Linked DNA regions of Homo sapiens: region 2 is linked to region 1. Evidence: promoter capture Hi-C in 16 types of primary human blood cells and fetal thymus (Javierre and others, 2016). All regions are on one chromosome and are shown on one strand. The core of a region is centred on a gene start or on the middle of the fragment in contact, and the rest is flanking DNA. Distances in the headings are between cores, read along the strand shown. Region 1 holds the start of CTDSP2-AS1 (CTDSP2 antisense RNA 1). Region 2 holds the start of OS9 (OS9 endoplasmic reticulum lectin).

What was found. The method cuts DNA at HindIII sites, captures the fragments that hold promoters and counts their contacts. A CHiCAGO score of 5 or more calls a contact.
Region 2: the fragment with the promoter of OS9 here is called in contact with the fragment with the promoter of CTDSP2-AS1 in region 1 in 2 of 17 cell types (neutrophils and non-activated CD4 T cells); the score reaches 9.4 in neutrophils.

What each region holds. Positions count from the first base shown.
Region 1 is chr12:57,835,781-57,838,480 of GRCh38, forward strand. It overlaps CTDSP2-AS1 (CTDSP2 antisense RNA 1), which reads left to right and starts at 1,311. Exons shown (of 2, transcript NR_188077.1): 1 at 1,311-1,434. All of the region lies in intron 1 of CTDSP2 (CTD small phosphatase 2), which reads right to left. RefSeq lists enhancers at 1,541-1,610, 2,200-2,700, 2,401-2,510, 2,571-2,650. The HindIII fragment of the contact is 9,495 bases long and covers 1-2,700 here.
Region 2 is chr12:57,692,778-57,695,477 of GRCh38, forward strand. It overlaps OS9 (OS9 endoplasmic reticulum lectin), which reads left to right and starts at 1,355. Exons shown (of 15, transcript NM_006812.4): 1 at 1,355-1,546; 2 at 1,973-2,149. The coding sequence starts at 1,385. RefSeq lists enhancers at 984-1,558, 1,546-1,595. The HindIII fragment of the contact is 11,057 bases long and covers 1-2,700 here.

The DNA.
Region 1 (2,700 bases), core at 61-2,560:
GCGGGGTGTGAGGAGAAGAGGGGATGTGAGGAGTATGCCCCCACTGAGGATCATCAGGGCTGGGGTCCAGGCTCTGCCAGTTACTGACTCAGCCACACAGCCTTTTGGAGCCTTAGTTTCCTCATCCATAAACTGGGATAACAGCAAGCCCTCACTCAGGACTGAAAGGATAAACGAAGTTAGAGAGTAAGGCACTGTGCTAACTCTAAAGCTAAATGCTGCGCTTGTTTTAATTAATTATCCAAGGGGAGATGACCACTAAATGGCAACATCATGGGCCTCATTCCAGGAGGCCAGCAACAGACCAGGAGCCCTCCCACCATCATCACGTGGATGAAGCCCAAGAAGATGAGGGAAAGGTGCCTGAGAGCTCTGATCATGAGCAGGTTTCAGAAAGTCAAAATAGCCCCTATACCTTCTCCCAAGTCCACAACAAAATTTGTTTTCCAGCTCACAAACTCCCTGACTGGGTATTCTGTGAAAAACAAAAGCAAGTAAGACTGTTTCACTTGAGACAAAAATCGCTGTCTCCCCTGGTATTCATCCCCACTACTCTCAAGAAGTACCAGGTAAGGACACTATTTGCCCCTATGCATGGGCCGGGGTAGGTGGCTCAAGCCTGTAATCCCAGCACTTTGGGAAGCTGGGCCGGTTGGATCACTGCAGCTCAGGAGTTCAAGACCAGCCTGAGCAACATGGCAAAATCCTGTTCTACCAAAAAAAAATTAGCCAGGTGCACCTGCAGTCCCAGCTTGGCAGGCTGAAGTGGGAGAATCACCGGAGCCCAGGAGTTTGAGGCTGCGGTAAGCCGTGATTGCACCACTGCACTCCAGCCTGGGTGACAGAGTGAGATTTTGTCTTTAAAAAAAAAAAGTGTACATGTACAAACACGTGAACACGTGCACACATACACACAAACGAAGACCAGAGTGACCAGGGCAACACTGTTTTTAATCTTCTCCTGAAAGTCAGGTCCAGATACCACTTTTGTCAACAACACAGCTTTGTGTCCCAGCAAAGGAACTCCTCACACATCTGCCTGCGATTCAGCAGAAGGTAACCTCTGAGACAATCAGATTTTAACAAGCCCATTCAGGTAGAAAGTTGCTTTCTTTTTTGGTTCATCCCCAGAAGTACTTCCTTCCCCACCACCTCCCATCCCCCACAGCAAAGGACTTAGCCTTAGCCTGGCTATCACTATAAAATGGCCCCTCTGAGGGGCCTCCTTCCTCTCAGCTATTGGAGGAAGGAGAGTATTTGGAGCATTTCCGGCCCTTCTTGGACGGCTGCCTGAACCCTGCAGCCAAGACACATTTGACTGGGACTCCCCCATGGAGAGAAGTCCTCCCAGGTCCTCTGCAAGGGGCATCTGTTCCTTGGCTATGGACATGCCCTAAAGTGCCAGGTGGACGGAAGAGCTCCTGGGACCAGCAGGTGAGTCGGCAGGGAACAAAAGAGGGTGAGATGCCTAGACAGCCCCCACACACAAAAGACTGCAAACAATGGGGAGGGTGTACTGCTTTCATGCCTGGCCACTGACACTGTTCTCTACAGCTAACAAGCAAGGCAGGGCCGGACCCAGCTTAGCACCGGCTCCCGAAGTTCCAAAAAGTAGCTGTGTATCTAACTGCATGGGCATTTTTTGAAAAAAGCAGTTTTAACACTTTGGGGGGCAAAGGCAGTGGGGATCACTTAAGGTCAGAAGTTCGAGACCAGCATGACCAATATGGTGAAACCCCATCTTTACTAAAAATGCAAAAATTAGCAGGGTATGGTAGTGAGCTCCTGTAATCCCAGCTACTCCGGAGGCTGAGGCACGAGAATCACTTGAATCCAAGAGGTGGAGGTTGCAGTGAGCCGAGATCACACCATTGCACTCCAGCCTGGGGGACAGAGCAAAACTCTGTCTCAAAATAAATAAATAAATAAATAAAATTTAAAAAATTAAAAAGCAGTTTTAGCCATGCTGTTTGGCCCATACCAGCATGTTGTATGCTGGTGCCCTCTCTGCACCAGCAACTGGGGCAGCTCTACCTAAGCCAGTGTCTCCATTAGTTCCCTTTCCCTGGGCAGGAGAGCTCCCTATATGGCTGTCTCTTCTTTCAGACCTGAGTCCTTAATGCCACCTGTGGGGCGAGGGTCACAGGTCACACACTTTCTTGTCTCTGCCCCTTCAGCAATCTGTTCTCTGACCTCAGCTAGAGAGGTAAGAGGACTCAGTTTTGGGAGCAGGGGATTTCTGGCAGTTCTAAAGCACGCTGATTTCAGAATCAGCCTCTAAAGGAGGTATTGCCAAAACACCCTCCTGGGCAGCTCCAACGTACTTTAAAAACGTGCTGGGTTGGGGTGGGCCTCCATAAGTAGCAGATCCTGGACCAGAGACAGAGGAGGCGTTTCCTCATAGACAAGTCAGCTGCAGGCTCAGCCCTGCAAGCCCCACTCCAGAGGACTCTTGAGGGATGTCAGGAAGTGATCTAATAGCCCACAGGGCAGCAGGGACAAGCCTGAGATGCCATCCAAGAAAACTCAAAGGACTGGATCCTGCCCCTGCCTCAGCAGGAGACCCTGCCCTATGTAGCACCAGCCAGAGCAAAGGTATCATTGTGAGGGATTGGAAACCACACTTGCCTACCTGGAGTTACCCCTCCTTCCCCCTAAGGAGGTGTATAACAAGCCCCTGTGGGAGGGGCTACACACAGA
Region 2 (2,700 bases), core at 105-2,604, 140 kb before region 1:
ACGGGGTTTCACCACGTTAGCCAGGCTGGTCTTGAGCTCCTGACCTCAAGTGATCCGCCCGTCTCGGACTCCCACAGTTTTGGGATTACAGGCGTAAGCCACCGTGCCCGGCCTATTTTTAAATTTTTTATTTTTAGTGTTTTTTCCCCTCCCTTGCAATTTATGTTTCCTCTCATTTGCTTTTCCCTTCTTGTTTGTTTCTTACTTGTATATTAAAGTCCTTCCTTAAATGTCTAATGATCTCTGGCTATTTATTTTGAAGAGTAAGAACACTAAAAAGCTGATTGGAAAGTGGAATGAGGGCTGGGGCACGTAGGCCAAAGTGTTACATGTGGAATTCATTCTAGTTATCTATATCATTAAGAGAACTCTGATAAGGGTATCTTTGGGATTTTTCGTTTTGGCTGGTGAGATTCCCCAGAGAGGGTTTTCCAAAGGTATAATCAGCCTCTTGTTTACCTTTGTTTCGTAATAAATATTCTCAAGTTTGCTAAACCAGTTAACATTCTTCTGTTTGATTTCCAGCTTCCAAAATGTTGCTGTTGTTGTCTCCTTTCCCTTTCTTACGGCCTGGAGAGTAATACATAATTTCACCTTAACTGGAAGCCCATGTATGCATGTATGTATGTATGTATGTATGTATGTATGTATGTATGTATGTACGTACTTATTTGAGACGGGGTTTCGCTGTGTTGCGCAGGCTGCACTTGAACTCCTGGGCTCAGGAGATCCTCCTGCCTCAGCCTCCGGAGTAGCTGATACCACAGGTGCGTGCCACCACGTCTGGCTGCCCGCATTATTTCTCTAGGATTTTTACTGGAGGTCATTTTACTGGAGGTCAACTGCAGGATCGTATAGGAAGGTTTTGACACAAATTTTCTGATTGCCTCAAAGCAATATGTATATATGAAAAGAGGTAAGCGTCCGTATAATAATTGTTTGTTTTGCAACAAGCATTTAATAACTTTCACCGGCACTGCGCACGCTACCTATCTGCCTCAATACTCCGCCCGGCGGTGGGCAGGATATAATGCAAGAGACGTCTGAAAAAGCAATGAGATGCGCATGACAGCTGGGCGAAGACAGAGGGCAAACTTAAAAGGACCAAGCGCATAGACCACGCCTCTGAAATTGGGGAACGAGGAGGGGTTTGATCTTGTCGATGATTGGCTGGTCTCTGACCAATCACGGACAGCGATTGATATTTCTAATCGTCGTGATCCACCTCCCCAGGACCTTGGAGCCACGTTTACAAATAGGAATAGGGTACGTGGGAGGGATAGAACGTACAGCCAATAAAATCATGTGGCGCCGATGGGCGTGTTGAGGCCGCTGCCTGGCTTAGGGCGGAAACAGATTCTCTGCATAAGAAGGGGAACGAAAGATGGCGGCGGAAACGCTGCTGTCCAGTTTGTTAGGACTGCTGCTTCTGGGACTCCTGTTACCCGCAAGTCTGACCGGCGGTGTCGGGAGCCTGAACCTGGAGGAGCTGAGTGAGATGCGTTATGGGATCGAGATCCTGCCGTTGCCTGTCATGGGAGGGCAGGTGAGAGGCGTATAAGGGGCGAGGGTCTGGGCAGAAGAGGAAGCGGGTAAGAGATAGAGGAAGAAGGGCAGCTCCGGAGTCTGGGGCTGGAGCCTACGGGGAATCGGGAAGAGTAGGTATTGCTTTTACGGTGACCCCTGGGGGTCGCAGACTGAGACCAATTCTCTGGGGGCCAGGAATTGGGAGAGGTGGGGCTTCCCGCTGTCAACCTTCAGGTCTCAGTTTATGATCGAAACACCCGGACTCCGCCCCCGTGGAGAAATGGGAGCGCCCTCTCCTCTCACCCACTAAATACAGCTGGAGGGCTTATGGCTTATTCTGTCTTCGACTGATCTCTTCCCCAGGGTTTGAAGAGGGATTTCGTTGTTCTCCCTGATCCCAGCCTTTCTTTGCTTCCTTGCCCCCCGACCCTCCCTTCTTTCCCAGAGCCAATCTTCGGACGTGGTGATTGTCTCCTCTAAGTACAAACAGCGCTATGAGTGTCGCCTGCCAGCTGGAGCTATTCACTTCCAGCGTGAAAGGGAGGAGGAAACACCTGCTTACCAAGGGCCTGGGATCCCTGAGTTGTTGAGCCCAATGAGAGATGCTCCCTGCTTGCTGAAGGTGAAAGGGACTGGGTTAGATAGAATGAGGGCTTGGAAACTAGCAGTTCATCCAAGAACTGGAGTCCACTGAATGAGGCAGGATCTAGGGGACCTGTAGTGGTTAAGAAGACCACTGGAGGAGTAGACAGATTACACGGACAGGAAAGAAGCAAAGAATCCTGCAACCACTGATGACACTTTGCTGAACGTAGGAGCAGGTTAGGATAGAAGATCTCAGAAAAGGGCTAAAGCAAGATTGAGGGTCTGCGTGGGGTAGGAGGAGTACTTCCTTAAGCCTACTTGCTAAAGTCACCCCCTGCCCTATCACTCTGCTCCAGTATCCTGTTTTATTTTCATCGTAGCACTTTTCATGATCTGAAATCATATTTACTGAATCAGTTTGTTTATTTTCGGTCTGATTCCCCGCATTAGAGTGTAAACTCCATGAGGTCAAAGAATTAATCTTGTTCACAGTTGTATTCCCAGTGGCCAGAACAGTGCCAGGAATGTTCAAGAAGTTCAATTAATATTTAATTTTGGGTTCTTCTATGTTTCCCTAATATAATTGCT